4 separate regions of the Homo sapiens genome follow, and regions 2, 3 and 4 are each linked to region 1. Evidence: promoter capture Hi-C in 16 types of primary human blood cells and fetal thymus (Javierre and others, 2016). All regions are on one chromosome and are shown on one strand. Each heading gives the region's core, a stretch centred on a gene start or on the middle of the fragment in contact. The rest is flanking DNA. Distances are from core to core; before and after follow the strand shown. Region 1 holds the start of YKT6 (YKT6 vesicular SNARE protein). Region 2 overlaps NPC1L1 (NPC1 like intracellular cholesterol transporter 1). Region 3 overlaps NUDCD3 (NudC domain containing 3). Region 4 has its middle 13 kb from the start of DDX56.

The links. Contacts are between HindIII fragments. The CHiCAGO score rates a contact against its expected background, and 5 or more counts as called.
Region 2: a contact is called between a fragment that was not itself captured here and the fragment with the promoter of YKT6 in region 1, in 1 of 17 cell types (M1 macrophages). The highest score is 5.6, in M1 macrophages.
Region 3: a fragment that was not itself captured here is called in contact with the fragment with the promoter of YKT6 in region 1 in 11 of 17 cell types (M1 macrophages, M0 macrophages, fetal thymus and 8 more); the score reaches 8.4 in M1 macrophages.
Region 4: a contact is called between a fragment that was not itself captured here and the fragment with the promoter of YKT6 in region 1, in 9 of 17 cell types (endothelial precursors, M0 macrophages, total CD8 T cells and 6 more). The highest score is 9.7, in endothelial precursors.

What each region holds. Positions count from the first base shown.
Region 1 is chr7:44,198,716-44,205,406 of GRCh38, reverse strand. It overlaps YKT6 (YKT6 vesicular SNARE protein), which reads right to left and starts at 4,429. Exons shown (of 7, transcript NM_006555.4): 1 at 4,168-4,429; 2 at 757-839. The coding sequence starts at 4,271. RefSeq lists a silencer at 4,253-4,322. The HindIII fragment of the contact is 756 bases long and covers 3,783-4,538 here.
Region 2 is chr7:44,519,684-44,525,827 of GRCh38, reverse strand. It overlaps NPC1L1 (NPC1 like intracellular cholesterol transporter 1), which reads left to right. Exons shown (of 19, transcript NM_001101648.2): 11 at 3,586-3,776; 12 at 3,992-4,116; 13 at 4,710-4,836; 14 at 5,008-5,063. Among named protein-coding and RNA genes, the nearest start is that of NPC1L1, 19 kb to the left of the region's middle. The HindIII fragment of the contact is 2,414 bases long and covers 2,430-4,843 here.
Region 3 is chr7:44,462,200-44,468,397 of GRCh38, reverse strand. All of the region lies in intron 2 of NUDCD3 (NudC domain containing 3), which reads left to right. It also overlaps the pseudogene RPL32P18. Among named protein-coding and RNA genes, the nearest start is that of NUDCD3, 25 kb to the left of the region's middle. The HindIII fragment of the contact is 2,956 bases long and covers 672-3,627 here.
Region 4 is chr7:44,557,476-44,563,907 of GRCh38, reverse strand. No RefSeq gene overlaps it. Among named protein-coding and RNA genes, the nearest start is that of DDX56, 13 kb to the left of the region's middle. RefSeq lists an enhancer at 1,657-2,551. The HindIII fragment of the contact is 582 bases long and covers 2,430-3,011 here.

The DNA of each region.
Region 1 (6,691 bases), core at 3,180-5,679:
GTGCATACCCTCCAAAGAAACTGAGAACCTGGTCAGTGGAGGAATTGTCTTTAAGTAATAAACGTGGGAAGGGCAGGCACAGTTTGAAGAACAGAGCAAGAACACTGAAATATTTGTGATGCGATTTCACTTCTATGATGTTAATAGCACAGAGATCCCACATAAAGTGTATATAGTCAATCCTGCCTGTATCATAACTGACATTTATATCATCAATTCAGTAACTCTATGTCACGTGACTTGAGGTTAGCATAAGTGTGAGATGATCTTTGTCCCTACCTGATGAAACTCATGTAACTCTTTCCTGATCTGTCTGTATAACATACACATCTAAATAAATGCCTAAACCTGAATTATCAGAAAGAAAAAATAGTTTTTTCAGATTCCTGATCAAAAAATCTACGATGCACAGAATACATATAGTACCTCAACAGTGCTAGCTGGAAATCCTTTTTTGAGGGGTCTGCAACTCTGAAGAGGATAGGGAAGAATACGATATGAAGGCTGCTTACTGCTCCAAAAGAGTCAGACCCTAATCTTAAATGAGTCTAAGTTTGAGGGCAATTTTATCTGGGAAGCTCAGACTTCAACAGTGGGCACAGAATTCTGCATAAATAGGAAAAGGAAGAGGTGGGAAAGAGAGAACAAGCTAGAGGAGGAGTAGGGTCCCAGTAGAAAGGAGAAAGCTGGGTGCTATGTGAGGTGAGGCATGGCAGCCAGGCCAGCACACGCACAGAAGTTGGAGGGTCTTCTTACCTTGTTCTTTGACAGAAGCTCTAGTGCCTTTCGATGAGCGCTCCACAATCAGTTGACTCGTGAAGGTCATGAATTCCTGAACGCTAAGAAACACAAAATGTATTTATTGCCTACTTCTTATCACCTTGTCCCCAACACAGTGGAAAGTGACCTCTGGGCTTATACATTAAGTAGACATTGCTTCTTGGTTTCATTCCTTTCCCTCCCATCCCTAGTAACAAACACTCTATAAATGAGCACAAATACTGATAATTATGAATTATCATCACCATGAAAGCTCCATCTGTTTGCTACCTGGCTCACCAAAACAGGTGAATTTTCTGGGGGGTTTTTCCACAGGATACAGTCAATTTTACATTTTGGTGAATGCATAATTTGGAATGCAATGGAAAAACAAGAGGCAGGTCCTGCTCTCAAGGTCCCAATAACTTCCAAGAAGCAGGACATTTATAAGAACTGCACTAGAAGAATAGTGTGCAAAAACTGTCAGGCAGAAATGCACAACCATTTATGGCTGTGTCCACATGACAGACCCTCGCAATGCCACATACACCCATAGTGAGTGCTGGCTCAGGTCTGCTGGGGCTCGTCCACAGAACGAGCGCAAGACACTCTGGATGGAACAAAAGGAAAACTGCTCATCCAAGACAAAGAAGTGGGAAATGGCTCATACAAAGGGTGAAAGGGAGAAGGTCCATCATGGGCTCAACAGAGAGATCTATCCAGAACAGAACAGTCACAGGAGATGGTACAGCCAGAGGAAGAGGTGCTGACAAGGAGCCTCCAACTGAGGATGTGATATAAAGGGCAACCAGGGCCATCAAAGCAGGGTGCTCAAATGGGAGTCTGCAGCAGGCTCCAGCAGAGCCATATAGGTAACTGAAGGCCTGACTCTGGGCCTGTGTGCTGTGCCTCCACATTAAAAAAATCAAGATTTGTGCAACAGTTAAACGAGGTAATACGTGTAAAGCACTTGGAACAATGCCTGCACACACAGTATTACTTGTTAATATCTTGAGGGACTGAAGTGATCAAAATAACCCCTCAGAAAAGAAGACCTCAAACAAGGAAGGCTTTGCAGTAAACCTAGAGACAGCATTTGAGACACGGCTATAAAGAGACAAAGGAAGAACTGCATTGTGACAGCATGTATACAAAGACCAAAAAAGCTGGGAAACTACTTTTTCAACTTTGGAATCGGGTAATTATAGGGCACAAAGGACGTAAGTAAAGCGGTCTTATAAGAAAACAAGCTCAGGCCGGACGTGGTGGCTCAAGCCTGTAATCCTAGCACTTTGGGAGGCCAAGGCAGGCGGATCACTTGAGCTCAGGAGTTCGAGACCAGCCTGGCTAACATGGTAAAACCCCATCTCTACTAAAAATACAAAAATTAGCCGGGTGTGGTGGTGCGCGCCTGTAATCCCAGCTACTTGGGAGGCTGAGGCAGGAGAATCACTTGAACCCAGGAGGCGGAGGTTGCAGTGAGCTGACACTGTGCCACTGCACTCCAGCCTGGGTGACAGAGCAAGACTCCATCTAAAATAAAATAAATAAATAAATAAATCAGCTGGGACATGTGTTGTTTTAAGACATATTAGTAGAGATGTCCCTTTAGTGTTGCAGCTGTTAGTCATTGGAAACTAGTGTGGGCATCCCAAGCAGGTGAGGTATAAGTCCTACAAGTGAAATCTCTGAGAATCTTAAGTACTAATGGGAAGGAAAAAGGAAAAAGAATCAGAGCCAAGTTGGCACCAAAAGTTCCATCTGAGAAAAGCAACAACACAGAGCAGTGAATGTAGGCCATGGTAAAGACTGCAAAGACCAAGAACCCCAAGAAGGAGCTAAAAGATAATGCAGCAATTCCGCTTCTGGGTAAATACCAAAAAAATGCGAGCAGGGTCTTGAAGAGATATTTGTACATCCATGTTCATAGCAGTATCATTCACAATGGCTGAAATGTGGAAGCAACCCAGGTGTCCACTGACAGATGAACAGATAAGCAAAATGTGGTGAATAATACAATGGATTATTCAGCCTTAAAAAGGAAAGAAATTCTGATATATGCAACAAGATGCATGAGCCTTGAGGACATTATGCTACATGAAATAAGCCAGACACACAAAAACTATATGATTCCATTTATCTAAGGTCGCCAGAAAAGTCAAAATCACAGAGACAAATTAGAATGGCAGTTGCCATGGGCTGGGGGAGAAGGGAATGTGTTTAATAGACACGAATTTGATAAAAAGGAGTTCTGGAGACGATTGACAGTGATGGCTGCACAACACTATCAATCTATTTCATATCAATGCACTCACTACACGCTTAAAGATAGTGAAGATAAATTTTGTGTACCATTTTACCACAATTAAAAATATTTTTTTAAAAGAACTCAAAGAAGCAGAAAGTTTCAACAAAATAACATTTTTTTTTTTTTACATCCAGCAAGTCCTTGGCAAAGAACTCTCATCAAGAACCAGCTGCACTGAAGCAGGGAAAACAGAATCCAAACGGCAGATTCCATCAGATTTTGAGACAAGATGACCATAGATACCGACCATGTAGGGTCCTCCTTCTTTCGTGCCTGAGTCACCCCAATCCCTCCCACGAATGGTCTGGAAGTGTCTGTGTTACTTCTAACACGTTCCAGCAATTAAAGCGCCCCAGAAACAAGTAAAAGCCTGTAAGCCCTACAGATCCCATGCTTCATTTGCATCTTCCGTGTGGAATCCTTTTGTACCACTAGTGTCCAACTAAAAAGCGTTAAACCTGGCTTTCAGTTCTAGCTGGTTGTGATATAACCTCTTGGTACCTCAGTGACTTCACCCATTAAAAACAAACAAAAAAAAGTATATCACTATCTCTCATACAGAATTGTTGGGAAGCCCCGCAAGAAAATCAAAATATGGCTCTCAAGATGCGGCACCCAAGCTCCCAGAGTCAGAATCACTGGGTGGGAAGTGTTGGTCTAAAATATAAATACCGAGGCCTCAATCTACTAATTCAGAACATCTTGGCATGAAGCTTGGAAATCTGCACTACTTCACAGTCTCCTTAAAATTTTTACACGACAGAAATTTGAAAAACACTGAGTAGAGAACTATATTCTAGAATGGTATAAGCTCTTAAAGAGCTAATGTTGGTTCCTCAAAGGTAGAGTCCACGGCCAGATTCCATTATAGGAGACCAAGCCCGGACAGCAGACCCCGGGCCCTCCCCACCCCGCCCCGCCTCTGACTCGGACACCAGCCTTCTCAGACCCCGGGCACTCGGCCACCCCGCCCTGCCCCTACCCTTGGCCTCCTCCACCCTCCCCTCATCCCTCCGCCGACCCCAGGCCCACTCCGACTCGGACCCCCACCCCAGTCCTCTCCGCCCGACCGCCACGGCCCACCAGCCTGTGCCGCTCACCTGGATCTCTGGAAAAAGCTGAAGGAAGACACATCGTATGCGGCTTTGAGCAGCACCACCTTGGCCTCGCCTTTGTAGAGGACGCTGAGGCTGTACAGCTTCATGGCTCCGCGCCCTCAGGCCGCCCGCCTGCCCAGCTGCGGGACCCGTTCTCAGGGAGCAGCGCGGCCGCCGCCCCTCGGGACCGCCGCCGCCTACCGGCCTCTCAGCAGCCGGCTGCTGACGGGGCCACCGCCGGCTTCCTCCTCCTGGCTCGCAATCCACTTCCGGATCCGGTCAGCCTGGTTGAGGGTTCTCATACTCCGGATGCAGAAATGTGAGCCCGGAAGTACAATGCAGCGAGGGGCGGGATGCCACGCCTCGCGTAAGCTTGGCCCCTCCCTGCTCGCCAGGTGGAGTCGGGCGCGCGGCGGGATACCGTACTGTCTTGTGCTGGGTGGTGCTGGGCCTCCCACAGCGGCCTGAACCCTTCTTTTTTTTTTTTTTCTTTTCTTTCTTTTTTTAAAGTAAGCATTTTTTTTATTATTATACTTTAAGTTTTAGGGTACATGTGCACAACGTGCAGGTTTGTTACATATGTATACATGTGCCATGTTGGTGTGCTGCACCCATTAACTCGTCATTTAGCATTAAGTATATCTCCTAATGCTATCCCTCCCCCCTCCCCCCACCCCACAACAGTCCCCGGTGTGTGATGTTCGCCTTCCTGTGTCCATGTGTTCTTATTGTTCAATTCCCACCTATGAGTGAGAACATGCGGTGTTTGGTTTTTTGTCCTTGCAATAGTTTGCTGAGAATGATGGTTTCCAGCTTCATCCATGTCCCTACAAAGGACATGAACTCATCATTTTTTATGGCTGCATAGTATTCCATGGTGTATATGTGCCACATTTTAGGAGGAGCTTGTACCATTCCTTCTGAAACTATTCCAATCAAAAGAAAAAGAGAGAATCCTCCCTAACTCATTTTATGAGGCCAGCATCATCCTGATACCAAAGGGTGGCAGAGAGAGACACAACAAAAAAAGAATTTTAGACCAATATCCTTGATGAACATTGAAGCAAAAATCCTCAGTAAAATACTGGCAAACCGAATCCAGCAACACATCAAAAAGCTTATCCACCATGATCAAGTGGGCTTCATCCCTGGGATGCAAGGCTGGTTCAACATACGAAAATCAGTAAACGTAATCCAGCATATAAACAGAACCAAAGACAAAAACCACATGATTATCTCAATAGATGCAGAAAAGGCCTTTGACAAAATTCAACAACCCTCATGCTAAAAACTCTCAATAAATTAGGTATTGATGGGACGTATCTCAAAATAATAAGAGCTATCTATGACAAACCCACAGCCAATATCATACTGAATGGACAAAAACTGGAAGCATTCCCTTTGAAAACTGGCACAAGACTGGGATGCCCTCTCTCACCACTCCTTTTCAACATAGTGTTGGAAGTTCTGGCCAGGGCAATCAGGTAGGAGAAGGAAATAAAGGGTATTCAATTAAGAAAAGAGGAAGTCAAATTGTCCCTGTTTGCAGATGACATGATTGTATATCTAGAAAACCCCATCGTCTCAGCCCAAAATCTCCTTAAGCTGATAAGCAACTTCAGCAAAGTCTCAGGATACAAAATCAATGTGCAAAAATCACAAGCAGTCTTATACACCAATAACAGACAGAGAGCCAAATCATGAGTGAACTCCCATTCACAATTGCTTCAAAGAGAATAAAATACCTAGGAATCCAACTTACAAGGGATGTGAAGGACCTCTTCAAGGAGAACTACAAACGACTGCTCAATGAAATAAAAGAGGATACAAACAAATGGAAGAACATTCCATGCTCATGGGTAGGAAGAATCAGTATCGTGAAAATGGCCATACTGCCCAAGGTAATTTATAGATTCAATGCCATCCCTATCAAGCTACCAATGACTTTCTTCACAGAATTGGAAAAAACTAAAGTTCATATGGAACCAAAAAAGAGCCCGCATTGCCAAGTCAATCCTAAGCCAAAAGAACAAAGCTGGAGGCATCACACTACCTGACTTCTAACTATACTACAAGGCTACAGTAACCAAAACAGCATGCTACTGGTACCAAAACAGAGATATAGAGCAATGGAACAGAACAGAGCCCTCAGAAATAATGCCGCATATCTACAAGCATCTGATCTTTGACAAACCTGACAAAAACAAGCAATGGGGAAAGGATTCCCTATTTAATAAATGGTGCTGGGAAAACTGGCTAGCCATATGTAGAAAGCTGAAACTGGATCCCTTCCTTACACCTTATACAAAAATTAATTCAAGATGGATTAAAGACTTACATGTTAGACCTAAAACCATAAAAACCCTAGAAGAAAACCTAGGCAATACCATTCAGGACATAGGCATGGGCAAGGACTTCATGTCTAAAACACCAAAAGCAATGGCAACAAAAGCCAAAATTGACAAATGGGATCTAATTAAACTAAAGAGCTTCTGCACAGCAAAAGAAACTACCATCAGAGTGAACA
Region 2 (6,144 bases), core at 2,387-4,886, 320 kb before region 1:
TGAGAAATATGCTGATAATCTTTTTGAGGATCTTTTGTATATGCCAAGTCACTTCTTTTTTTTCAATATTTTCTATTTTTTAAAAAACTTATTTTATTTTACTTTTTATTTTTATTTTTTAGAGGCAGGGTCTTGCTATGTTGCCTAGAATGGACTTGAAACCCTGGGCTCAAGCAATCCTCCCACCTCAGCCTCTTGAGTAGCTGGGACTACAGGTATATGCCACCATGCCTGGCTTGTCTTTGGTTTTTGACAGCTAAATTATAATATCCAGCTGGGTGCAGTGGCTTATGCCTGTAATCCCAGCACTTTGGGAGGCCAAGGTGGGTGGATCACAAGGTCAAGAGATCAAGACCATCCTGGCCAACATGGTGAAACCCCATCTCTACTAAAAATACAAAAATTAGCTGGGCATGGTTGTGCGCACTTGTAGTCCAAGATACTTGGGAGGCTGAGGCAGGAGAATCACTTGAACCCAGGAGGCAGAGGTTGCAGTGAGCCGAGATTGTGCCACTGCACTCCAGCCTGGCAACAGAGCAAGACTCCATCTCAAAAAAAAAAAATTATAATATCCGTTGGTGTGGGTTTCTTTAGTTTATCCTATTGGAGTTTATTGAGTTTCTTGAATGTTTATATTCATGTCTTTCATCAAATTTGGGGAGTTCTGGCCATAATTTTTTCAAATAATCTCACTTCCCCTTTCTCTTTTCTTCTGGAATTCTTACAATTCATATTTTGGTCTATTTGATGATGATGATGTCTGACAGGTCCCTTAGGCTCTGCTCTGTTCACTTTCGTTATTTTTTTTCCTTTCTCTTCTTCAGACTCAGTAATTTCAATGGTCTTATCTTCAGTTTGCTAATTCTTTCTTCTGACTGCTTTTGAATCCCTCTAGTGAATTTTTCATTTAAGTTACTGTACTTTTTAGCTCCAGAGTTTTTTTGCTCTTTTTTATGTTTCCTCCTCATTGATATTTCCATTTTGTTCATAAATTTTTCCTTGACTTTGTTTTCTTTTAGCTCTTTGAGCAACTTTAAGGCAATTGTTTTATTCATTTATTTTATTATTTATTTATTTATTTTTTGAGACAGAGTCTTGCTCTATCACCCAGGCTGGAGTGCAATGGTGTGATCTCGGGTCACTGCAACCTCTGCCTCCTGGGGTTAAGCCTCAGCCTCCCAAGTAGCTGGGATTACAGGTGCCTGCCACCATGCTTGGCTAATTTTTGTATTTTTAGTAGAGACAGGGTTTCACCATATTAGCCAGGCTGGTCTCGAACTCCTGGCCTCATGTGATCTGCCTGCCTTGGCCTTCTGATGTTGTGGGATTACAGGCATCAGCCACTGTGCCTGGCTGAGACAATTGTTTTGAAGTCTTTGTCTAGTAAGTCTGCTGTCTGGTCTTACCCAGGAACAGTTTCTGTTGGTTAATATTTTCCCTTTGAATGGGCCATGTTTTTCTTTTTCTTGGTGTGTTTTTGGTTGAAAAATGGACATTTGATTCTTATAATGTGGTAGCTCTGGAGATCAGATTCTCCTTCTTTCCCAGGGCTTGCTTTATTTTATTTATTGCTGTTGGTGTTTCTGTGCTGGGGATCAGCCAAAGGCACAGAGTTAATGTCTTCTCAGGTATTTTTGAGACTGCATTTTTCTCTGAGCATTTATGCAGTGTGGTGACTGTCTAAATATCCCTATATTTATGGTTGCTTTTGAATGTCCTTGTCCTTATATGTATGGTTCCCAAAAGGAGAAAAAGGGAAAAATGAAGGTGTCGGGGATAGGTGCTTACTCTTTAAATCTCCTGGAAGTCACTTTAGTAAGATGTGGAGGTGGTTGCAACAACGGTGGTGGGAGTTGCATTAGTGGCTGCCTGCCTGTGTATCTGTACCACCAATATCAGAAGTAATGATCAATTATCAGAACTCAGATCCTTGATATTTGAACTTATTTATTTATTTATTAGAGACAGGGTCTGGCTCTCTTGCTGAGGCTGAAGTGCAGTGGTGCAATCATAGGTCACTGCAGCAGCAAACTTCCAGGCTCAAATGATTCTCCTATTTCAGCCTCCTGAGTAGCTAGGACTACAGGCATGTGCCACCACACCCAGCTAACTTTTGTATTTTTTTTTGTAGAGACAGGGTGTCGCTATGTGCCCAGATCGGTCTCCCACTCTTGGGCTCAAGTGACCCTCCTGCTTGCCCTCCCAAAGTTCTGAAATTACAAGTGTAAGCCATCATGCCCAGCTGATATTTGGTGGATGGTGTCCTTGCCTACCTGGCTCCTGCAAGCTGTGTACAAGCTGCTTCTGGAAAGCATACACAGCTGCATGCCTTGAGGCTGGGAGTGGCAAATGGGTAGCTGCTACTGTACTAAAGCTGAGATTGCCTGAAATTAACCACAATTTACTGTCCAAGCCTTATCCTGGAAGCTTCCAGCCCTCAATAGACTCCAGAGTTCCAAAATCGTTACACTAGGGCCGGTGTGGTGGCTCATGCCTGTAATCCCAGCCATTTGGGAGGCCGAGACGGGTGGATCACTTGAGGTCAGGAGTTTGAGACAAGCCTGGCCAACATGGTGAAACCCCATCTCTTTTAAAAATACAAAAATCAGCTGGGAGCGGTGGCACATGCCTGTAATCCTAGCTACTCAGGAGGCTGAGGCACAAGAATCGCTTGAACCCAGGAGGCGGAGGTTGCAGTGAGCAGAGATCGCGCCACTGCACTCCAGCCCAGAAGACTCCATCCATCTCAAAACAAAACAAAACAAAACAAAAACAAAATAGTTATACCAGACAAATTGTTGTCTAGCTGGGGAGAGGGATTCCTGACACTTCCTACTGTGCCATTTTCCCTAATGTCACTCTGAGCCTTTATGTTATAGAAGGGAGCAGACCATGAGGATGCCTGGTGCATGGCTTTGAGGGTGTGCACACTGACATTTATATGTGCACACAAATATGGGCCGTTGTCACAGGCCAGCTTGTTAGACGGTGGCTGTGCCATATTGGGGGTGATAGGAAGGGGTACAATTATGTGTCTGTGCATGTTTGTGTGTGTCAGTGTGTGTTCATGTGAGGTGATAGGTGTTGCTCTGTGTTTGTACCTGCATAAGTGTACTTCTGTTTGCACCTGTGATTATACCTATTCTGTGAACCTTGGAGTATGTTCATCTGGGGGTACACCTAAAACTGTGTTCCGGTGTAACTGTACAGTGCACATACATCTTGAGGGTACCCCTGAGTGTGTGTGTCTGTGCATGTCCTTCTCTATATGTACCTTGTGTGTGACCTCTGAGCATGTACATCTCTGTGTATATTTTGTGTACTTGTGTGCATGTACCTCTGTGTACCTCTAAGCATGTATCTACGTGTATATCTCTGAGTGTCCCACTGAGCACATCCCTTTGAGTGTGTAACTGCATGTGTGTCTCTGAACATGTTCCTCTGTGTGTTCCTCTGATCATGGACCTCTGAACATGTGCCTTTTAGCATGTACCTCTGTGTGTACCTTCGAGAGTGTGAGCTGGATTGAGCCCTTTAGGGGTGTGCATAGCGAACCAAAGCTCACTGACCCTCCTCCACTCCTAGGACTCGTACCTGCTTGACTATTTCCTCTTTCTGAACCGCTACTTCGAGGTGGGGGCCCCGGTGTACTTTGTTACCACCTTGGGCTACAACTTCTCCAGCGAGGCTGGGATGAATGCCATCTGCTCCAGTGCAGGCTGCAACAACTTCTCCTTCACCCAGAAGATCCAGTATGCCACAGAGTTCCCTGAGCAGTGAGTTCCTGGCCCGCCCCAAACCCCAGCCTACTCCCTGTTTGAGTCCCTCCAGTCCTCTCCAGTCCCCTCTTCCTGATGTTCTATCCCTGTCCTGCTGCCCTGCTGCCTTGCTGCCGTATGCCTGGGGAGGGCTGCGTGGGGGTTGGGCCACGAGAAGGACCCACCACCCTGCCCAGCTGGCCTTTTCACCCTTCCTCCCACCTGCCCCTTAGGTCTTACCTGGCCATCCCTGCCTCCTCCTGGGTGGATGACTTCATTGACTGGCTGACCCCGTCCTCCTGCTGCCGCCTTTATATATCTGGCCCCAATAAGGACAAGTTCTGCCCCTCGACCGTCAGTGAGTGTGGGGCCATGGGGACTCACTGTCCACCACAGCTCGGGCAAACTGAGGCAACAGAAAGGAGAGGACTGGAGAGGCTCCCTCAACCTCTCCCACGCATCCTGCAGGGTCTGTCGGGGGCATGGGTGCAGATGTGGCCTGAGGGACAGGCACTCTGTGAGAAGCACCTGTGTGGGTGACCGTGCTGGCCCGTGGGCATCACACATGTATACTGCTGTGTACTGTGCCCCCATTTTCAGAGCACATGGTGCTCCCGGGTGGCAGGGCAGTGGGGAGTCAGGAGGGGAGAGCTGCTGAGGTTAGCACATGGCCCTGCCGCCCAAAGCAGTGGCATTTGTAGGTGGAGAGGCCTTTGTGGGGCCTGTTTTTCTGCCCCAAACTTCCTTTCCCCTTCTGCCTGTAGGTGCCCACAGTTTCTATAGCCAAGAGGAGAACTTCTCCCACAAATGACAAATGCAAATCCCCCTAGAAGCGACTGGTTGAGGCTGGAGTGCCCAGGACCTTTGATGGGATTGTTGGGGAAGGAGGGGCACAAAGCAGGAGCTGCTGGCCCTGGGGTGTCACTGCCCAGACCCCTGCTTTCTCTGCAGACTCTCTGAACTGCCTAAAGAACTGCATGAGCATCACGATGGGCTCTGTGAGGCCCTCGGTGGAGCAGTTCCATAAGTATCTTCCCTGGTTCCTGAACGACCGGCCCAACATCAAATGTCCCAAAGGGTAAGCTTGGGAGGGCCTTCTGCTGGGGAGGACAGACATGTGGGACACAGGATGGGGTTGAATATAGAGAGGCAGGAGGAGGCTATCAGGGGCCTCTCTGGGGTGGCTGTGGGCTGGGCAGATGAAAGAAGCTTCGTCCCTGGCTAAGCCTTTGCCCTGACCTTCTTGCAGCGGCCTGGCAGCATACAGCACCTCTGTGAACTTGACTTCAGATGGCCAGGTTTTAGGTAAGCATGGCCTTGCCTGGAGGGGAGGACATAAATCGGTTGCTCTGGAGGGCCCCCGAAAACCCCAGGGAACAGCCTGTCACATGTTGTCTCCCTCCTTTGTCAGGAGGTTCTCACTGCGCTGGCCCTGTCAGCAGGGGTCTTGTTTCCCAGCTCCACATCTCAGACTTCACCCCTTCTCTCACTCCCAAGTCCATGGTCAGTGCTAAGTTTGTGGAATTGATTCAGCAGTTGATACCATACTTGGGAGTTCTCCACACCCTGGCTAAGCACCTTTCTTACCAGCACAAATTACACCCAAAGGGCAGCTGGTTAAATGAATTAGGATGCTTGGCACAGCACAATCCTAGCAGTCATTTAAAGTAACAAGAGGCTGGGCGCCTGTAATCTTAGCACTCTAGGAGGCCAAGGCGAGAGGATCTCTTGAATCCAGGAGTTTGAGACCAGCCCAGGCAACAGTAGGGAGACCCTCTTTTTTTTTTTTCGAGACGGAGTCTCGCTTTGTTGCCCAGGCTGGAGTGCAGTGGTGCAATCTCGGCTCACTGCAACCTCCACTTTCCGGGTTCAAGCGATTCTCCTGCCTCAGCCTCCTGAGTAGCTGGGACTATAGGAGCATACCATCATGTCTGGGTAATTTTTGTATTTTCAGCAGAGATGGAATTGCACCACGTTGGCCAAGCTGGTCTCAAACTCCTGACCTCAGGTGATATGCCTGCCTTGGCCTCCCAAAGTGCTAGTATTACAGGCATGAGCCACTGTGCCCGGCCTCCTCTACAAAGTAAAATTTAAAAAATTGCCCGGGTGTGGTGGCGTGTGCCTGTAGTTCCAGCTATTCAGAAGGCTGGGCGGGAAGAATGCCTGAGTCTGGGAGGTTGAGGCTGTAGTGAACTGTGATCGCAACACTGCACTCCAGCCTGGGCAACAAAGTGAGACCCTCTCTCAAAAAAAAAAAGAAAGAAAAAAGTAACAAGAGAGATGCAGTTGGACTGACAGGAAAAGGACCCACAACATGCTGTCAGCTTATACAGCAGATGGCAGAACAAGACAGCCATCTGTGTAAAGGAGCTGGCCATAGCTCCGT
Region 3 (6,198 bases), core at 900-3,399, 270 kb before region 1:
GTCTCCCTGGGCCTTAGTTTTCTTTTCTTTTTTTTTTTTTTTTTTTTTGCAGTTTTTACATTTATTTAAACAGAAAACGTGCACACGAGCTGTCTACTCATTTTCTTCGCTGCGCAGCCTGGCATTGGGGTTGGTGACTCTGATGGCCAGTTGGGCAGCTGTTTCCACGATGGCTTTGCGGTTCTTGGAGGAAACATTGTGAGCGATCTCGGCACAGTAAGATTTGTTGCACATCAGCAGCACTTCCAGCTCCTTGATGTTGTGGACCAGGAACTTCCGGAAGCCACTGGGCAGCATGTGCTTTGTTTTTTTGTTGCTCCCATAACCAATGTTGGGCATCAAGATCTGGCCCTTGAATCTTCTACGAACCCTGTTGTCAGTGCCTCTGGGTTTCCGCCAGTTACGCTTAATTTTGACATATTGGTCTGACTGGTGCTGGATGAACTTCTTGGTTCTCTTTTTGACGATCTTGGGCTTCACAAGGGGTCTGAGGGCGGCCATGATGCCGAGGAGGAGATGGCTGCCACCTCCGTAGGCAGCGCCGAGGAAGAGAGCCTTTTCTTTTCTTTTTTTTTTTTTTACTGAGGTCTTAGTTTTTTTCTTATATACAATAGGGTGATAACAATTAAAGGGCTGTTGTAAGGATTAAATGAGATAGTATAATTAAAGCTTTCAGTATAAGCTAAGTACTAGGTTTGGTTCTTGGATTCAGCAAGTATTTATGGAATACTTTTTTTTTTTAGGGGCTTGGGGCAAATGGGGTTTAAGATTGCCAGCCTGCCCCAGTCTTTTGCCTCGTCCCTGCCGGGCCTCAATGGGGACCTTGATCTCTGACCTGCCCCTTGATCAAAGAGCTCCACCTCTGACTTGTCCCTTGATCTGGGAGCTTGGGTTCTAACTTGGCAGCCTGGATCAGGGTGATTGGCCTCTGGCTGATGCAGAGGAACCTCTGGCTTCTTTTTCTTCCTTTGAGCAGTTGTACAATTTGAGTCAGGAAGGGAGAGAGGATGGCTTCTTTCTGGCCACCCACTAGCAGAAGTCTTGGAGTGGGCGCTTCGCCGTTCCCATGTTAAATGAGCAGTTCTGATTCTGTCTGGGCACATTCTACTTCTGAAAGCAAAATTTCACACCGATCTCTGTGGGTGGTATTATTGTGAGGACCATTGGAAGGGACTCTCCTTCCTTCCCTCCTTTTCTGTCATAACTTTTCTATCTTTATTGACCCATTCTTCAGTAGGGGTGAGATGCTGGTTCAGCAGGCCCTGTAATAGCAGCACACTCTGCCCTGCAGAGGTTGGAGGAAGTGACACCCAACCTTCTTCACCACGGGGGGCTGGTGAGGGTGAATGTGGGGAAAGAAACCAGTCAGTGCCCCTCAATCTTCACTGCTGATAGCTGAGCCACACCATAGATTTGGACCAGAATCTTCTCCCAAGGAGGGCCAGTGCTCTCTTCCCATGACCCTCATAGCAGAGTCTGAAACAGCAGTCTGAGTGGGTCACACGTTCCCTCACCCGGTGGGGCTTTGTGACCTAGTGATTCATGGGAAGCGGGGGTGTTTGCACACTTTCTCCCTCCTGCCCACTAGCATGCCTCCTGCTTTGCAGGCTCACCCAGAGCTTTCTATTCTGCTGCTGCTAGAGCTTCCCAATAAGTGGGTAGGTAGGACTAGCTGTGACCTAGAAAACACTTAGCATTATCCAAGTGTCCCTAGTGAAAAGCTGAATAAAGCAGGAGAAATGTCACTTTGGATGCTCAAGTTCTCCTAGGAGAACAAACTTCCAGACCTTTTGTTTCCCCTAATTTTTGAAGGCAGCATGGCTGAGCCCAGAACCACATGGCTGAGCCTGGTACCAGAGTGGCTGGCAGGATGAGCACTTCACAGATTGGTGTGGTGACTAGCAGCCTCCTTCCTGAGGCCTTTGGGGCCCTGCTGACTGTACTGGGTCTTAAGTAAGAAAAACAGAAAACTGTTTCTCTCTCCAAGGAAAACAAGCAATAAACCCCATGTACATACCTCCCTGAGTTCTGAGTAAGAAAGGAAACCAGGCATGGTGGCCCCAGAAGTGTTCAGGGCATATGGGTATGATCCCTTGCCCGAGTGGGTTGGCAGTGTCCTCTTGAGAGGCTTTTTGTGTCTGCTGAGTATTTTCCAATTTAGGGTGGCTCAGGGGATGGGATGAGGATTCTTCAACTTTTTCCTTGTTTTTTAGCTTTTTTCCTTCTCAAGTTGGCCCTGGGTGGCTGTCCCTGCTTCTAGGGGCCATTGTGAGCTTTACATTGGTGCAGTGCTGGCTCCTGGCAGCAAGCATCTGGCTTATACCACTGAGATGTCTCATGTTGGGTGGCTGTGCCACCCAGGCTTCCATGGTCCTGGGTTCACTGGTCATTTCTTTCCCAAAAGTATGCATTCACGAGGTCAGCTTTGTATCTTTGGGGCCAAGCATCTGTGATTTTGCTGCTCTAGCTTTTATTTAGATTTGACTCTCTTGCACCCCTTTTACCCTGGAACTTCCTATTTTTCCGTAAAAGTTTTTCTTTATTTTTTTTAACTGGTGTTTTGAAAAATGCTGTATGCATATATCAAAAACAATTTGAGAAGTACGGTGGGGTGTATAGTAGAACTTTGGTGGTCTTCTCACTCACGGCCCTGTCTGTGGCTCTGTTCTGCTCTACACAGTGAGGTGACTGTGTTTATCCACTCTACCCTAAGTGGCTGCTGTTACCAGTGTCTGGTGTACCGGTCAGGAGATAGTCTATGAAAATACAAGCATACTTATCTATGCCTGTCTTCTTACTTTTTTCTTTTTTGGTTAATACAGTTTATTTTTAGACTGACTTTAGGTTCACAGCAAAATTGAGCAGGAAGTGCAGAGAGTTCTCCCTGTGCCCATGGCCTCCACGATTAATGTCCCACATTCTCTACTTTTTCAGTTTTAACCTTTCCACAGATGATAGTGGCTGTATACACTGCTCATCCACATCAGTCTCAGTGGGTGTCTGCTGTGTTCTCTAACGGCTGTTCAGAAGTTTCCCACTTCATGTGGACAGGCCTTAAGGTGTTGATGTTTTACTGTGTGAACTGTGCTGTGGCTGTCTGTATTCTCTCAGCCTCATTTCTGGTGGAATTACGGGAGAATGATGTGAGATGACTGTGAGATTTTTAAAATCACTAAAAGTTTCTTTATAGTAATATAGAGGAAAATTAGAAAATACATGTAAAAAACATTAAGATTAAGGAAATTTAAAATGCTCTCTGGAAATGTCCTGGGGATGTCCCATGCTCGTGTGGGGTCTAGGGCACAGGGCGGAGAGCAAAGCATAGGTGTTTGAACTGGTGCTGCTGAGGTGGAGCAGAGCACATGTGTCAGCTTCTGTTTACACCTTCGTTTGGGCCCTTCTGCTCCCCTGCCACTTCCCTGAGCCCTGCCCTCGGCTCGGCCCCTGGGATGGATGTGGGTTATTGTTTTTGGCACTGTAAGAGGAGGGAATTTAGAATAAGGAAAAGAGGGTTGAGATTCTGTACTAAATGCCAGTATTGTTGGGTGTCTTAATCTAAAAGCTGGAATGGGGATAACGCTCCTTCTAAAAGGGTATTGGTCCATAGAATAAGAAAAAATTGAAGCTTATGTAAAGATTTGGTGGGCCGGGCATGGTGTCTCACACCTGTAATCCTAGCCCTTTGGGAGGCCAAGGCGGGCAGATTACTTGAGGCCAAGAGCTCGAGACCAGCCTGGCCAATGTGGTGAAACCCTGTCTCTACTAAAAATACAAAAATTAGCTGGGTTTGGTGGTACATGCCTGTAATCCCAGTTACTCAGGAGGCTGAGGTGGGAGGATTGCTTGAGTCTGAGAGGTGGAGGTTGCAATGAGCCGAGATTGTGCCATTGCACTGGGTGACACAGCAAGACTCCACCAAAAAAAAAAAATTGTTGATCTAGTCAAGGTACATTTCTCTGCCTGATGTTTTCTGAGACATGGGTGTATGATTTGTCTGTGCTATATTGTGTTCTAACCCAGAGGCCGTGAAATGAAAAAAACGTAATTTAACTCAAATTAATGGGACTGTGGCGCTCTTTTTCTTTCTAGTTGGCCTGCTGTCACTTTGAGGGACTGTTATTTGGAGGAAGTTAATTTGGGAAACGATTCTTGCTTCGTTTTCTTTTTCTTTTTTTTTTTTTTTTGAGATGGGGTCTTGCTCTTTAACCCAGGCTGGAGTGCAGTGGCATGATCTTGGCTCACTGCAACCTCTTCCTCTCGGGTTCAAGCAATTCTCCTGTCTCAGCCTCCCAAGTAGCTGGGACTACAGGCGTGCACCACCACGCCTGGCTAATTTTTGTATTTTTAGTAGAGACGGGGTTTCACCATATTGGTCAGGCTGGTCTCGAACTCCTAACCTCAGATGATCCACCTGCCGCAGCCTCCCAAAGTGCTGGGATCACAGGCGTGAGCCACTGTGCCCGGCCAGGAAATGATTCTTTTGGTCCCTCATACTGCTTGTGAAGTTGTAGAAGTACTAAATTCCCATTTCATCCAGAAAATATATTTCTTTGAAAATGTCCGTTGATTTTTTTTTTATTTAGTAAAAATACATTCCTTTTGTAAATAGATAAAACTCAAGACCCCTTTGATCATCCCTCAAGCCCAGTATTCTCCCAGAGATAACAATTGTTCTTGGGCTCACCTTTTATTTATTTATTTTAATTTAGTGATTCCAGTTTTTAATGTTTAAGATTGCTGGTTGATTCTTATGAGTGTAATATCCTCTCACACCACTTGGAGGCTGTTGATTGTGCCTGTTTTTAAGTCTTGTGTCTTTACTAACTCTGTGTTCTGCAGCATCACTTCTTTAGGTGTAGAATTTGTTGCCCTTTTCTCAGGGTTTGGGGATACTCAGCTGTGTATTAACTTTTAAATTTGAGGTTCCTGTTAGCCTGTCTGGATGCTGCATCAGTTTTCCAAAGTTGGTCTCTAGACATTGTTGGTGGCTTGGCTGGGCATGGACTATGTCAGCTGCTAGTTCTCAGGGATGGCAGGCTCCGTGCCCTCTGTGGGTGTCACCAGCTTGTCCTCCCAAACCAAGTGTCCAACTCTCCTTCTCTCTGGGTTCAATGCCACTTAGGTTCAAGTGAGTGGAGTTACATATGTGTTTTTGGGGAGGGGCAGGAGGTCATTCCATTGTTATACCCTAACCACATTGTCCCTTGATACTCACAAAGACAAACTAGAGCGGGCTAGGGTTTCTGGGCATCTCTGCCTCCTGACCCTATCGGGGTCAAGACACACCCAGGCTGCATGTGTAGCCTTCGCTTAGTGTCATATATTCAGTGCCAGCAGCTATCTCATGAGGGCCATGGGCACTCATACAATGCAAAAGATACTATAAATCTTTTGTATCTTTGTGTATACACACACACACACACACACACACACACACACACACACACACACAGCCTGGTTGTGTCTTGATTGGTAACCCAGAATACACAGGCAGTGTTGCTTTGGTGATGAGTATTTTCAAAAAGGCAATTACATTTTAGTAAAGGCCAGAATCAGACATGTTGTATTCCTGGAAAATTCATGATATAATAAAAGCATGCAAAAAATTATTTGGGTTTTTATCTAAAATTGAGTTAGGTTACAGGCTCAGAAGAATGTTAAACAGCTTCTGTCTACCTGCATGTCTAATGGGATGTGTGAAGGTAATGCAGGGCAGGGGACAGTGCCCATTGACTGCCCCAAGGACACCTAACGCTGCCCACACACTCCCAAACTCCCAGGAGGCAGGGCCTACCCTCCCTTTGAGAGCTGCTGATCAAGTAGGAGTTTTCTGTTTTCATTCATATTTGAAAAGTTGGAATAATCTGCTTTATGATGTCTTTATTCCCTGAAAAGTTAAGCTAATAATATTGGTCAGTGTTTTCCTATTTAGGAACATTTTCTGAACATGTGGTCATTAGGGGATTTTAGAGTATAAGTTATGTATCTGTTAATTTTTTCTGGGTAATTATGTGGTTGAGATGCTAGTGGCACACATTATGGTTACATTTGTTCAGTAACTGTAACTCGAGCCCTGGAAATTAGGCTTCTATAAAATTTCATAGCAATTCATGAAATGTTGTTTGTAAGCAAAATGTACCCAGCTCCTTGACTAAAGTTACCTTAAATATTCTTAAAGATAGAGAGGTAATACGCATT
Region 4 (6,432 bases), core at 1,471-3,970, 360 kb before region 1:
ACCATGTTGGTCAGGCTGGTCTTGAACTTCTGACCTCAGGTGATCCACCCACCTCGGCCTCCCAAAGTGCTGGGATTACAGGCGTGAGCCACCATGCCTGGCCGTGAGACTCTATCTTTAAAAAATAAAGAACAGGAAGGTCCATCTTCGTGTCCTGAGACTACAGAGAGAAAGTAAGTATAAATGGCTCGTTCAACACCCCACCTGGGAGGCAGGTACCATGTGCCCATTTACGTGTGAACAAACAGGCACTCAGGGTTGGCCTCTTGGACTTAGTCTGGCCAAAGCCTGTGCCCTTTGCACAAATGTGCAAATCAGGACTGGGGCAGGCCTTGGATGAGGGTATGTGTGCTATGGGCAAATGAACCTAGGGCTGTCCAGGGCCAAACAGCACAGAGGGCATGTGGGCCTGGAAGGGAGGAAGGAGGTGTGGCACATGCTGCGTGGAAGCCTAAGGCTTCACTAAACAGCAGAGAAGCTTGGATGGTTTTCAGGCTGGTGACGCCCTGGGCTGAAGCAGGAAGGTCAGGAGAATGCAGTGGCCTCTCCACTCTGGGCTGGCACAGTTTTGCCCACATGTATACCTGAATGGGTGCCTGGCTGTGTGGACTGTGCTATGGTCTGGAATCAGATGGACAAGGCACAGTCTATGAGGCAAGGAGCAGAGATGGTCAGCCAATGCAGACTGCTCAATAGTCATGTTGGGAGTTCAGGGTACTGGAGGGCTATAAGGGGCCCTCACCCAGTTGGAGAGAATGCTGCCTTCCTTGAGAAAGTGAGGTTTATGCTGAGATGGGAAGGGTGGGAGGGAACAGCAATCCTAGCAGGGGAGACAGCATGTGCAAATTCCCTGGGGTGGGAGGGATCCCTGCACATTTGAGGGTGAAAAGACCAGAGGGTTGTTACCAAAATATGCAATGGGGGCTGAAAATTTGATTTTTTAAAAAAATGTAATAGTCACATATTAAAAATTCAAAGGATACAGAAGATGGAGGGTTTTTGAAAACAAGGGCATTCTTTTTTTTTTTCTTTCTTTTTTTTTTTTTTTTTTTTGAGATGGAGTCTTGTTCTGTCACCCAGGCTAGAGTGCAGTGGCGCCATCTCGGCCCAGTACAACCTCCGCCTCCTGGGTTCAAGCGATTCTCCCGCCTCAGCCTCCTGAGTAGCTGGGATTACAGGCACCCACCATCATGCCTGGCTAATTTTTGTATCTTTGTGGAGATGGGATTTCACCATGTTGGCCAGGATGAACTCCTGACCTCGGGTAATCCACCCGCCTCGGCCTCCCAAAGTTCTGGGATTACAGGCGTGAGCCACCACACCCGGCCAACAGCATTCTGATGATATAGCTGGTGATAGCAGATGGGAGGACAGTGGTGTGCCCAGAAACCTCTGGACCTGGAGCACAAAAGGCTCAGGGTGCATTCCCAGCCCAGCGGATTCTCTGCCTGCATCTGCTAAGGATGAATGACTCAGCTTTGGGGGAATTAGTTGTGAGACTTTGGACTTCAGGGGCGGGGCCCCAAGAGGCAATGGTGATAAAGTTGAATTTGAGCAGGGAAGGTGCCCCGTCAGCTGTCATCCTTTTCCCCAGGAACATCATTATGTAAGACTCCTGCCTTGTGGAACAGGCTGTGAGTTGCTGCTCTTCCATTCCTCACAGCCATGTTTACAAGGGTAAGGAAGGGAAGGAGTGGTTCATCATTGCAGAGAGGAAGGTGCCTTGGCCAAGCAGACCTGCTCTGTGCCAGGCATGACACTGGGCAAATGCACAGTATTTAGTTTATTTATCCTGAAATGCTTTCAGAACTCAATGCATCCAGTGTCTTGTTATCCCTCCAGCCTATCCGCAAACCTGCTGAGATGCAGTAGGTTTGGCGTAGAATGCACTGAGGGTATCTGTGGCAACAGTGGGCTAAAGAACAAGGCACATCAAGGGGGTCTTCCGACGAACACCCCAAGGGTTGCCTCCACCACGCAGCATCCTGCTGTGGCTCGCCTCAATGTCCCAGGTGCTCTGTGGGCACAGTGGCCAGGTCAGACCATGATGGCCACTTTCTGACTGTATGGTCTCATACAGGGAAGGCATGTCACTTTTCTTGGCCTTCTCTAGGTTCTCACCTGTAAGTGGGGGTAAAATGTCCCCTCCAAGGGTTCCTGTAGGGGCCGAAGTGGCTCAGGCACCTGGCACGCCTGTTGCAGCCCAGCTCTGTGCTAGCACCTCCCAATGCCTGTTGAATCCACCATTGCCTTCTGGGACGTGTCTCCATACTTCCACGAGAATACGTCTAGGGCACAGCCTGGGGTTCTGCATTTGAGTTCTCACCTCCGTCCCAGGTGAGCCCAAAGGTGCTGGTCTCTAGTCCACATTTGAGAGGCAAGGCTTTAATATCCACCACACACATTTATTTTGCAGATTGGCAAAAGCTTAGATTAACTAGCCAGCCCAATGTCACTTGGCTAAGTGGTAGAGGGGAGGTGCTGTGTCTGTCAGACTCTAGTCTGGAATTGGAGGTGGGATACCTAGGTTCAAGTCCTGGATATGAAACTTCCCTGTCACATCCCTTCTCTGAGCCCAACACTTAATCCGAAAGTCATGGTGACGTGGGAGGCCAGGTAAAGTAGGAGATGTCTAGCTAGATTGGAATTTCAAATAATGAGGAATTTTACAGCATAACCGTGTCCTGTCCAATATTTGGGACATATGCTAAAACAGATATTCACTGTTTCTCTGAAATTCCAGTATAGCTGGGCATCCTGCTTTTTATTTGCTAAATGTGCAACCCTAGGTTGTGAGACCTCTCTGACCCACGCGTGGCCTCCTCCAGGAAGTCTTCCTGAGCGCCAGCCTGGGCTGGGCATCCTCCTCTGTGTGTCTGATGCTGCTCTGACCTCATGAAGCTCTAATTGCTGGGGCCTGTCCCCACCTTGATGTGGGAGCTCTTCGGAGGCAAGGACCATGCCAAGTTGCATATCTGTGTGTTCCTGAGTCCAGTGGTTCATTAAAAGCTTTTCCCTGAGAGTATCCTTAATGCCCCGGAGGTAATTCTCTTTTCACAACCTTTCTACTGCCTGAGGCTCTTGAGGACTAATTCCAGTTAAAAGCAGAGGGAAGGATGTGGTAGGAATAGCACCGCATGGAGCTGGACTCTGTGCCCCCCGTGCAGCAGGCAGGACCCTCCCTCTGTGTCACCTCCATGACTCAGGGCTCAGACAGGAAGCCCTCATCCTCGTCCTCCACGGGTCTCATGTTTGTCAAGGCCAGGGGTATCAGGCGTAGTAGGCAGGGGCCCATGCCTGCTCCCATCTGGGAGACCCTGCTTCAGGCCCCTCTCATGGCCCCTTTTGTTCCCCACAGCTCACTGTACAACTTGTTGGTTCAAGGTTAGAAAATGCAGTTTTGTGTTGAGGGGGACCATCACAGAAGACAAAGGGTCCAGGATGAAGGCTACCCATCAGCTTGCAGGGCTGGGACGAATGTGAGAAGCAACTGATGCTTGTACAGTAGAGAGTAAGCATGTAGGGCCAGTCCCCAGACCTTGCCTCCCCTCAGCCTTGACATGTGATCTCCATTTCTGGTGGCTACCCCTGCTAGTGGTCTGGCTTCACCATCTTAGCCCTGCCCAGGCTAAGACCCTCTTCCATCAGAACCTGCAGCTGGGATGCTGGGAGCAACAGTCAGGGCAGAGCTGCCCATCCTCCCATTCAGGGAGCCCTCAGGAAGTACTTGGGACCCCCCGACCCTTTATAGATTCAGCCTGCCTCATCCCCTCCATGGACCAACACGCCCTTCTCCTCAGCAGTGGGCTGGGGGACCAGGCTCCTGAACTGCTTGTGGCTGTTCCAGCAGTGGGGAGATGGAGGGTCACACAGTCCTGAGTCTATGGCTTTGACAGCAACGGGTCCTGACTGCAGCTGTATTCGTGAAGCGAAGTACCTAATACAATCACCGAAATGTACAAATTGGACCCCTATAGGTTCAAGGATTCTTGGTGTAGGAGGTATGGCCCCCGCCCCGGGAACCAGGACCTCAGCTTTTAGAAGCAAAATGCATGAATGCAGTGATGGTTAGGCCAAGTGCCAAGGGAGACAGCCAACCCCTGCTATCATGGCCAGAGGAGGGAGAGACCACTCAGGCCTGGGTGGTGGTAGAAATCCTCACTGCCAAGGAGATTGTATGCGCAGGCGTTGGGAAGGCCCGGAGAAGCCTGAGAGACAGGCTTGGCTTGGTTATAGCAGAGCTGGGTGGAGGGAGCAGATTAGTTGGCTTAGCACAGGCTTCCTGCAGGGTGGTGGTTCTTGGCCAGATTTGCCCCAGTGGGGCTTTTGGGAAAGTATAGAAATATTGTTGTTTTTTTTTTTTTGAGACAGAGTCTTGCTCCGTTGCCCAGGCTGGAGTGCAGTGGTGTGTTCTTGGCTCACTACAACCTCCATCCACCTCCCGGGTTCAAGTGATTCTCCTGCCTCAGCCTGCCAAGTAGTTGGGACTACAGGCATGTGCCACCACACCCAGCTAATCTTTGTATTTTTAGGAGATGGGGTTTCACCATGTTGGCCAGGCTGGTCATGAACTCCTAACCTCAAGTGATCTGCCCGCCTCAGCCTCCCAAAGTGCTGGGATTACAGGTGTGAGCCACTGTGCCAGCCAAGAAACATTTTAGGTTATCATATCTGGGCAATGGATGCTACTGGCTTTAGGTGGGAAGAGGCCGGGGATACTGTTAAAATCATGCAATGTACAAGGCAGCCCCCACAAGAGAGTTCTGTGGTTGAAAATGTCCGTAGTGTTGAGGTTGAGGACTCTGCTGTGGGGCAACAGTAGGAGAAGGGGTGCTAATAGTCAGGTGGTGGACAGCAGGGAATTACAGGTACATCAGTTAGGAGTGTATACAGCTGCAAGTAAGAGACCACCAGATGGCAGGAACAGTGGGAACAGAATGGTTTATCTTTTTCATGTGTCAAGATAAGTGGTGCTAAAGTCAGGCATGGTGGCCCTCACTTATAATCCCAGCAATTCAGGAGGCTGAAGAGTGAGGATCACTTGAGGCCAGGAGTTCAAGACCAGCCTGGGCAACACAGTGAAATGCCATCTCTAAAAATAAAAATTAAAAAAATTAGCCAGGGGCTGGGTGCAGTGGCTCACGCCTGTAATCCCAGCACTTTGGGAGGCTAAGGCGGGTGGATCACCTGAGGTCAGGAGTTCGAGACCAGCCTGGCCAACATGGTGAAACCCTGTCTCTACTAAAAATATAAAATTAGCTGGGCATGGTGGCACACCTGTAATTCTACTTACTCGGGAGGCTGAGGCAAGGGAATCACTTAGAACTGGGGAGGCGTAAGTTGCAGTGAGCTGAGTCACGCCATTGCACTCCAGCCTGGGCGACAGATCAAGACCCTGTCAAGGAAAGGAAAGGAGAGGGGAGGGGAGGGGAGGGGGGAGGGGGGAGGGGGGAGGAGAAGGAGGGAGGGGGAAGATTAGCTAGGCATGGTGATGAGCACCTGTAGTCCCTCCTAGCTACTCCGAAGGCTACGGTGGGAGAACTGCTTGAGCCTGGGAGGTCAAGGCTGCAGTTAGTGATGATCGTGTCACTGCACTCCAGCCTGGGTGAAAAAGTGAGACCCTGTCTCAAAAAGAAAAAAGACAGATAGGAAGAAAGAAAGAAGAAAAGAAAGAAAAAGAGAGAGAGAGAGAGAGGGAGGGAGGGAGGGAAAGGAAAGGAAGGAAGGAAATGCATCTGATTTTTGTGTATTGATTTTGTATCCTATAATTTTGCCAAGTTCATTTATTAGTTCTAGTAATTTTTTTTATTAAAAAAAATTTTCAAGATAGGGTCTCACCCTGTTGTCTAGGCTGGAGTGCAGTGGCACGGTTATAGCTCACTGCAGTCTCCATTGCCAGGACTCAAACAGTCCTCCTGCCTCAGCCTCCTGAATAGCTGGGACTACAGGCATGCCAGCATGCCTGGCTAATTATTTTATTTTTTGTAGAGATGGGGTCTCACGTTGTTGCCCAGGCTGGTCTTAAACTCCTGGGCTCAAGTGATTGTCCTGCCTCAGTCTCCCAAAGTGCTGGGATTATAGGCATGCTCCACCACACTCAGACAAGTTATAATACATTTTCAGTGGCGTATTTACTGTTTTAGAATATAAAATCTATCTGCAAATAGAGATAAGTTTAATTTTTTTCTAATTTGGACACTCTTTTCCTTCCTCCCTCCCCTTCCCCTTTCCCTTCCCCTTCCCTTTTCCCTCCCTCCCTCTCTCCCTCTCTTTCTCTCTCTCTCTTTCTCTCTTTTCTCTTTTCTTTTCATTTCATTTTTGCCAAATTGCTCTGGTTAGAACTTTTAACACTATGTTGAATAGAAGTGGTGACAGTATCTCATTCCTAGACACTTTTCGAAAGAAGACATACATGCAACCAACAAACATTTG